Regions from separate parts of the Homo sapiens genome. Here regions 1 and 3 are each linked to region 2. The links are contacts of gene promoters, found by promoter capture Hi-C in human tissues and cell types (Jung and others, 2019). All regions are on one chromosome and are shown on one strand. The core of a region is centred on a gene start or on the middle of the fragment in contact, and the rest is flanking DNA. Distances in the headings are between cores, read along the strand shown.

Region 1 (2,847 bases), core at 128-2,627, 1.5 Mb after region 2:
AAACTGCTTTATATTTTGTATTAACCTAGTTGTTATTGAAAATAAATATCATTTTATAGGCTTATTGGCCATTCGATAATTTCCAGGAGCAACTTTTATATACATTTTTTATTTTTTGCAGTTCTTTGATGTCATTTTGAAGCTTTTATTAATTGAATATGTCGAATATAGCTTCTTGAGGAATGTGACTTTGCTTTGAATTTTTTAATTAATTTTTTTGTCAACAAGGATTTTTAAATGTAACTTTCAACTAAAGTATATATTTTAAAAATGAACAAATCTTAAGTGCAAATAAATTATATCAAGGTGAACGTACCCATGTAATGACCATCAGTTCAAGAAGTCAAAAATTAGGTTTACTAGTAGAACTGAAGGGTCTTTTTAAAATATATTTTTTAATGTTTTGTGTTTTGGAATGTTAAGAAATTCTTCCCTATATTGAGAGCATTAGGAAAAATACTTAATGCAAACGGGGGATTACAACCTAGATGACGGGTTGATAGGTGCAGCAAACCACCGTGGCACATGTATACCTATGTATAAAACCCTCACATTCTGCACATGTATTCCAGAACTTAAAGTAAAATTTAAAAAAGTAAAATTAAATAAATAAAATAATAATTTTTTAAAAAAGAAATTCTTCCCTATCTTACAGTAAGAATGTTTCTATACTTTTTCTGGAAGTTCTAAAGTTTTGCTTTTAATATATAATTTTACCTTTCACATTTTTCAATCTATCTGAAATTTATGTATGTGATAATTATCTAATTTTTTCCATGTGAATAGCCAATTCTTTTAACACCAATCTATGCTTTTCTTCTAATTTGGAACGCCACCTTTGCCATATTCAATTTCCTCATGTTCATGTTTGTATTTCTGAGTTCTGTATTGTCTTTTATTTATCTGTAGTGTTTTAATTATTATAACACTATATTAAACCTTGTTATCTGGAATGGTATTCTCCCACCATTGTTCCTTTTGCTAATGCATTAGCTAATTTTGGACTTTTAATACTGCATATGGAGTTAAGAACGACCTGTCAATTTCTGTGAAAAATACCATTAGGATTTTGATTAGAATTCCATCACATATTTATAGATCAGTATGGGGAGAATTAATATTAACTACACTAATTATCCCTTCAAGAGTATGGCCTATGTTTCTTCATATAGTTGGGTTTTTGTTAGTGCTTTGCCTTTCTCTCTCTCTTTCTTTCTTTCTTTCTTTCTTTCTCTCTTTCTTTCTCTCATTCTCTCTTTCTCTCTTTCTCTCTTTCTTTCTTTCTTTCTTCATGCACCAAAAGGCCCAGCTAATTTTTTTTATATTTTTTAGAAACAGGGATCTTGCTATGTTGCCCAGACTGGTCTCAAACTCCTAGTATCAAGCAATCCTTCCTCCTCAATCTCCCAGACTGCTAGGATTACAGGTGTGAGTCACCACATGCAGCTTGTTAGTGCTTTTCCTTAAAGGTCCCCACCTCTTGTCTTTGCCCGCCTGCATTTTATTAATTGAATGTTGTAGTCCTTTTACCTTTTTTGATACTGGATCTCTTTGACATGAGCAGGAATATTATAAAGAAATTTTATCAGGCCATATCTGTGCATGAATAAACATTCTTTGCTTCACCCATTTCTATTAAAAACATTATCTTTTTGCTTTACCAACAAGGATGACTTTCTCCAGAATTTCCCCTTGTTTAAAAAAAGAAAAAAAAAAAAAGCTGACTAACCTGGATGGAGTTTGGAGGAAGGTTAGGTAAGGGGTAGTACTGGCATGTAGATTACTACTTTGCATTACCCGTAGAGTAAGAAATACTGAATTTAGCTCAAAATTGAAAGAAGTAATGTACTGCAAACCTACCTCCTTCTGTAGATTATGAGCAAGATAAAGAAACAAATGAAACTCTCTTGACACCTAGCCATATATGCTATTTACAAGAATCAGGGTGTAACAAAAGGGAAGCCCTCTGCAAAGACACAGTAAGGGCAAGATATTGCTGGACACAGAATGGTTGAGTTTTAGTTTTCTATTTCCACCAGCAGCGCCTGGCAAGGAGGCTGGAGCAGTAATATTCTCTTGGGAGGTTCAAGGCAGAGTAGAGACAAGTTATGAGAGCAGACTCTTTGTAGGGCTTCACTTTCAAGTATGGCCTAATTGCTTCTCTTGGGTTCTTCAGAAAAGGTAGAGCTGAGAGAAACAAACAGGCCCTCTGACTGCTGCCAGCTGCTGTTTGCACACTGAGTTTTGAGCCCTAGGCTGCCAAAACCACACAAATACCACAAAACAGTGGTTACTCAAACAGTAGGAAGATCAGTTCTCTGCAGGGTTCAGGAATAAAGGAGGCCCTAACAATGCTGCAAAGGCAAGAGGTCTTCCCCTAGCCTAAGGACGCTGACGTCCAGCCACATCTTGCAGAGGCTGATGGCAGAAAACGGTTGGCTGAAACCATGCTCAGAGAAACCTGGCTTGGGAACTTCCAGATATGAGGGAGGCAGTTGAAGGGCTCATAGGTCAGGTCTAGGGTCTCTGGTTCAATGAGATAGCTAGATGAGCAATAGAAAGGAACACTTTTCAGCAGGATGGTTCTGAGATCCAGCAGCTCCAGAGAATGTGCAGGAATCTAATGGAGTCCTGAGGACTTTTCTACCAGAAAAAAAATAACCCTAGGGTATAAGTGTCCAGGGGTTCAGGGGCAAGTTAGGAAAATTGATTTAATTAGGGTTGAATATATCACTGGGAGAAAATGAAACTCTTACCCCTGAGAAGAGCACCCCTGGTTGATGCAGGAAGGATGGCGGCAGACTCTATTCCCAGAGATCAGTTCATCTCCTTCAACTTCTTTTCTTT
Region 2 (3,101 bases), core at 417-2,916:
AATCCAAAGTTAACCACAATTCTAGTTAAACACAAAATTCTGGCCAATAAACTGACAAAATTATTTAAAAGTTTAAAAATAGAGATTTTCTAAAAATCAAAAACTACTTACTATAAACCCACCATATACGGGAGAAAAAAAGAGATATTTTATTTGCACAATGACATTGCAATTTGCATGGAAGTGCAATGACATATACAAATGAAAATAATATAAACACATAGAAACATACAATAAACAATTGCATGACTATGTACAGAATGAGTGGTATAACATTAAATATAAAGCATTCAGAAAAAAAATAAAAGTTGCTATAGTTTGAAATAGTCTACGAGGATTTAAAATTTTTTTCTCTATCCAAAGAGGGTATTTATGGGGTTGATTGGTTGTGAGTCCAAACCAAGGTTATAGAGATGGGGCAGCATGAGACACAAGAAAGAGCCTTGGTCAGATTTGAGAAACCTGAGCCTTTCCTTAGCCTGACTCTGCCATCAACCATTTATAACTTAAAATGACTCCTTTAGCTTCTGTGGCCCTCAGCCCTCTGCCACAGATAAAAGGTCAAATGAAGAATGTCTTCCACCCCTTTCAGTTATTCCATTACTGCATTTGTCTGTTCACCATCTCCAAATCAAGATATCTCTTGTTACTTGCTAAGGAAGCTTTGGGACCCTACACCTTGTGCTCTTAAATCAAGCTGACAAATGCAGGATCCCGTGGCTGCTTGCTTTCCATGTCTCTACCTCATGTCAGATTTATGTTTGGGACTAAGGGCAAGGTGTGTGACTATAAACCTGGATATCCCATCACAAAGGATTTACCATGCAGCTAAAAATGCCTAACGTACAGGGCTCACCAAATGCACAGGCCTTTTTAATGTCCCTGACGGTGGCCTCATGAACTCTCATTGTCATATATTTTTGCAGAATCTGTAGAAGTGAGATATTTCTGCATTACTTTTGCTTAAAGAGGATCCTCTATTCCAATTGCATAGGATCCAGGTTCATCAAAACTTAGATCTTCTCGTCATTATATACTTCTAAGTTCCTACTGTGTGAATAAGGGGTGCAAAAATCTAAAAAACTCCCGAAGACAAGGATATGAGGCACACCTCTTTGTAGGTCTGGCGTAAGGGAAAGAGGAAGAAAGGATTACATTCTACTCGTTTTTATCTCTCCCTGTTTGGTCTTAATCGGGTGCCAGCCCCTTAACGGAGGGTTGATCCCTGTTCCTCATCCCTATGCCTGCCTTGTCAAGGCCATTAACCGTGGATTGAGGTTTTACATAGTGGAACGCAGGTACTGTTTTGTGGGATTAGCATTTTTAGGACGGTGTTTGTGGTCACTCTCCCTGTTTCTTCCTCATGGGGTCCCTTAACAGGTTTTATGGTATAGAGAAGGAACTAAAGAAGTCCCCAAGTCACCCAGAAGGAAGATCAGACGTTAGAGGTTGCTTTACACATAGGGTGCCCTGTCCTGATAAACATCCGTCAGCGCTTGGCCAGGGCTACCTCTAAATCCACGCTGCTGGCAGCCTCCGCGCAGCAGGGATGAACTTCTGCACGCTTGGGAGTTCTGGCGTGCGCAGTGGAAGGAGGGGGCGAGGGCTGGGGGAGGAGATCGGAAGGGGAAAGGTAATCCCCGGCGTTTTCAGCATCCTCTTTTTAGAAAGACTGAGTCTCTCCCAGGACAGCTGCTGCGGTCACACCACAAACTTAAAAGCCGCCCTCCTGTTTGGAGCGTGCCTTTCCTCGCCACCCTCTCCTCCCCAAAGCTCCAGCTGGTGCCTTGCTCTCCGCCTGTCCTAGCGCGGCTCTCGGGGGAGGCAGCAGCGCCCCCTGCCTCCCGGCCTGGCCCCTGCGGCCGCAGCTTCCCGGCTCTGCCAGGGCTGCCGGCGGCTCCGCTTGCTCAGCCAGGGCTGCGGCTCAGAGGAACGCGCGCCGGTGCCCCGGGTTGCCGCGCCGCTGGACCTCAGCCTGCATCCCGTTCCCCTCTCCCTGAAAAGGCACCAGGAAAAGAGAGAGGGAGAGAAGAGTTCACAGCAGGTAAGTCTGGTTTGGGTCACCTGCTACTCCAGTGGGAGGGTGTGCTGGAGACCGCGGTGCTAAGCGGGGATAGCCGGGATTTGGGGGTGGCTGTGGGTCCGAAGTGGAGGACGAGCATGGTTTGGGAGATAAGGAACCGTCCTGAGACAGAGAAGGCTCCCGGGAGCGGACAGAGAGTGGGCGAAATCGGTGCGCAGTAATCGCGGCGCCAGCTTCAGCGCGGCCCCTGGGGCGCAGTCCCACCCCGCCTCAGCAGCTGCGGAGCCTTCTGACGAGCCTCCGCCTGGCAGCACTGCACAAAGTTTTCCTCCTGAGACGCGTCCAGGAACTTTGCTCTCTCCCTGGCTTCCTGGTTCCCCCACCACCCCTCCTGGTCTGGGCAGCAGAGAGCGTCTATGAATGTGTCCCCGGCTTCCGCAGGCTGCAGGTTCATTTGGAGACGCTTTAGTCGGGAACATCCGGGGAGTACTTGACCAAAGGGCATCTGCGCCCTCGCTCGCTCCTTTCCTTGTTGGTCTGGGAGAAGGGAAAGGGGCAAGGAAGAAGGAAGGGAAGCGTGGTGGTTTTTGTTGTAGCGTTTTGGAAGAGGAATGGGCGACGCCTTTTTCTTCGCCGGGGAATCGCGACGTTCCGTCTGATGGAAGTGTGCATCCTTTTAGATTTAGAGGGAAAGTTGGAGTCAAACAGCAGCCACAAAGCTGGCTGTCTGAAATGTGGTTAAGGCAAAACACTCGGGGGATCTCTTTGTAGTAGTGGGCTTGGCTCGCTTTGGAAAGGCCGGATTTGACTCGTGCTGGGCATTTAACCAGGAGTGCGGTCCCCAGGGTGTTTCCTCCCGGCTTCTGCCCAACGAGCCTGGAGTTAATGCGTTAATGGGCTACCCTGGTAGCGCACGGGCCGTTTTCGGCACTGTTTCTCCTTCTCTGATGACTCGAGTTCAACCTCCTGGGCTGAGTTGCTTTGCCTCCGTCACAGTGCAAGGAGGGAAGTTGACAGGAGGAGGAGACGCCGCGCTGTGGCAGGGAGCTTTGGGATCCAGGGGACTGGAAGAGAGCCG
Region 3 (3,093 bases), core at 33-2,532, 1.0 Mb after region 2:
TTTGTTTAAGATACTGATTGAGAGGGTGGGAGAGGATAGTAGGCTAATTTCCTTAGGCCACTTATATATAGATCTATAGATTGGTATTTAGAATAAAATGAACTTACAATGTTCGTTGGAAAATTCTTTTTTTTTTTTTAAATATGTAGTTATTGTGACATGGTAGAAATATTGCCAGGAAAGGACAATGGGACAACTACTAGCAGCATTGTTATTATGTACAAATCATAGTTATTAAGTGGTATTGAAAAATGATTGTGTAATCCAAGTGTAATCCAAACTCTTAGAAATGTATTTGGGCATAGCTAAAACAAAGTTGTTTACACCTGAGGTCAAATCAAGCTGTCAAAGTGCTTATGAATCTTCATAATATGGGTCAGAAATTTTGTTTTCTTTTAACCTTCAACTTTGAATTTCAAGAGAATAAATGCTGTTCCGTTGTTATTATCCCTTAAGAACTAGCTTAAATGAAAGTACGTTTTCATAAGTTCTGCAAACTTTATTTACAAAAGCACCATTATTAACTATTTCTTACTTGCGTTCTATGTATAAAATAGACACATAAAGCCACATAACTCATCTGTCAGATTTCTTTATGAATAGATTCTTGGATAAATAAAGTGAATATTGTAGAATTTTTGAGAAAGGTGATGTCACATCTACCTAAAGATTTTAGGGTGGCTTTTTAAACTAGGACCCAAAGAAGGTGGGCCTTGAATGATAGGACAAATATGAGAAGGTAAAAGTAGAGAAGAGTGGTGACTACTGTATCAGAAACTATTTCTTTGGATTTGATTTTCTTTTTAGGAAAACAGCAATATATTTAGAATAATTTATATGACTTAGAGCTGCAGCATAGCAGGCTAGGAACTTCATAGAGTAGAGTTGATACGTGGTTGTCTATATTTGACTGACAGTGAGATCAGGAGGGACAAGTGACACCTACTTGTGAGGACCTTCTAGAGTGGTCAGTCAGTTGGGCTTCTCTATTTCTTTTTTGGAATTTATCTACAAAATACAGAAGCAGGGTTATTTCTTACCAAAGGAAAAAAGAAAAGGACGTTGATTTTGGTTATCTGATGTAGAAAACACTTTTATTATCAGTTTTTAAAACTATAACATAAAATGATTTATAATGATGGTTTCTTCATGTTTTTAGAATTAACTCATTATTTCTTTCCTTTTTTTTTTTTTTTTTTTTTCCTGCCAGAGTTTCTCTCTTGTCACCCAGGCTGGAGTGCAATGGCGTGATCTCTGCTCACTGTAACCTCCACCTCCCAGGTTTAAGTGATTCTCTTGCCTCAGACTCCTGAGTAGCTGGGATTATGGGCATGTATCACCATGCCTGGCTAATTTTTTATTTTTTTTATTTTTTAAATTTTTTTAGTAGAGATGGTGTTTCACTATGTTGTCCAGGCTGGTCTCGAACTCCTGACCTCAGATGATCTGCCCACCTTGGCCTCCCAAAGTGCTGGGATTACAGGCATGAGTCACCACACCCACACCCAGCCCCTTATTATTTCTTTAATTCAACAGCAAGTTGTGAATAAAGTCTTCACAACAAGTCTGGAAATATTTGATAATATATATTAGACAACGTTGTAGGTTCATGGTACCCGGCAACACAGAAAAAAGTCACTTCTGGAATTTTGTTCAAAATGGTATAATTCCTTGTACTTTGAAGAATTGTATATAGATAAAGAAATACATAAATTCATGGGTTTATATTTAGTATGTGTGTGTTGTGTATATCCACAATACTCAAGTACAAGAAAAGTCATATACCGTTATTTTTCTAATTTTTTTACATTTAATTGGGAATTACTGAAATTAAAACACCAGTTATTAGAGCACAAGAATAAAGGATTTGGACACAGGTCTTGAGAGACAGTCTCTCCCTTTGCTTTGTGTCAGGTCTTAAGCAGTTCATGATTGGCTGTGATCTGTCATTTGTGGTTGACCTTCCCAGGGCACGTTCCATTGTTCAATGTTGCTGTCTAACCAAGTTCTCTGCTCTCTTCTGGGCACTGGTACTTTAAAAAGTTACCAAGAGTCTCCTTTCTGCCACCCTTCCACTAAGCCTCCTCATTATATTGGCTCTGGACCTTAGTACTTGTCTTGCCTCTAAAGGCATGCACGTAATGTTTCTATTCTGTTTCTTCAAGCTCCAGAGTGAAAGTTATGCTGGGTGCAGGGTCTGATCAGCACACAGATTCCCCCAATATAATTGCCTTCTATCTTTCCAGGTTTGAAGTATATTGCAAAAAAAAAAAGGATTTCTCCCCTTACCCATACCCCCACCTTTTTACCTGGTAGTACTTCAGTCTATATCTTTTGACTTCTCCAAATAAATCTCATTTAATGCTATCCTTTCAAAAACAAAATCCTGTTAATTCTCGTTTTGGGATATGGGAAAACTTTCCAACCCTCAAAAATGAAACCTTTTGTTTTTAGCAGATCAATCTCAAGCTAGGCTCTCCCGCACTGGCCCAGAGCTACAGAGTTTCTTACTTTCACCACATGATCCCCGTGTTCAATAGAGTCTCAGACTTCTTTTACTTCCCAAGGTGCCTAGTCAGTACAGGATTACGGTTTCCTTTGCACATTCTAATATACAGACATCTTTTCTGTCATTTAAGCCCTTCTTCCAGACAACTATTTAAGATCTAACATAACAAAATGAGACTAAATGATTTTTTTAAAAAAAACGTTCTGACGCCTGTGAAATTACTTAGCAAGGCAGATCAATGTCTGCTTTGCCCATTTGTGGTTCATCAGACCTAAATTAATACTTATCTGACTGGCCTTTCTCTTTAGCTGTCAAGTAGGGAAAAACTATCTCCTCTGTGACAATACTTCTGTTCACAACTATATAAACATCAGCACATTGATACTGAGAGAATCTGTTTAGTCTATTTTAAGCAGATTCCATGTAAGGAAGTGAAATTAGTAATGGTATAGTAATTTATTTCTTTCATACAAATCTCAGTCTATAATACTGAGCTGTATCACACATAACACACACTATGGACACTTTCACAGAAATGAATGCTCTTTTGTTCATATCATACCATGTATTTTATACCATTTAGT

What was found. The method cuts DNA at HindIII sites, captures the fragments that hold promoters and counts their contacts. A contact is called where the count stands out against the background at its distance.
Region 1: a contact is called between a fragment that was not itself captured here and the fragment with the promoter of SEMA3D in region 2, in 1 of the 25 tissues and cell types used here (H1 embryonic stem cells).
Region 3: a fragment that was not itself captured here is called in contact with the fragment with the promoter of SEMA3D in region 2 in 1 of the 25 tissues and cell types used here (spleen).

Annotation. Positions count from the first base shown.
Region 1 is chr7:83,731,964-83,734,810 of GRCh38, reverse strand. No RefSeq gene overlaps it. Among named protein-coding and RNA genes, the nearest start is that of SEMA3E, 84 kb to the right of the region's middle. The HindIII fragment of the contact is 6,001 bases long and covers 1-2,847 here.
Region 2 is chr7:85,185,621-85,188,721 of GRCh38, reverse strand. SEMA3D (semaphorin 3D) reads left to right here and starts at 1,666. Exons shown (of 19, transcript NM_001384900.1): 1 at 1,666-2,044. RefSeq lists a silencer at 1,795-1,854. The HindIII fragment of the contact is 9,968 bases long and covers 1-3,101 here.
Region 3 is chr7:84,183,802-84,186,894 of GRCh38, reverse strand. All of the region lies in intron 1 of SEMA3A (semaphorin 3A), which reads left to right. Among named protein-coding and RNA genes, the nearest start is that of SEMA3A, 9.4 kb to the left of the region's middle. The HindIII fragment of the contact is 8,232 bases long and covers 1-3,093 here.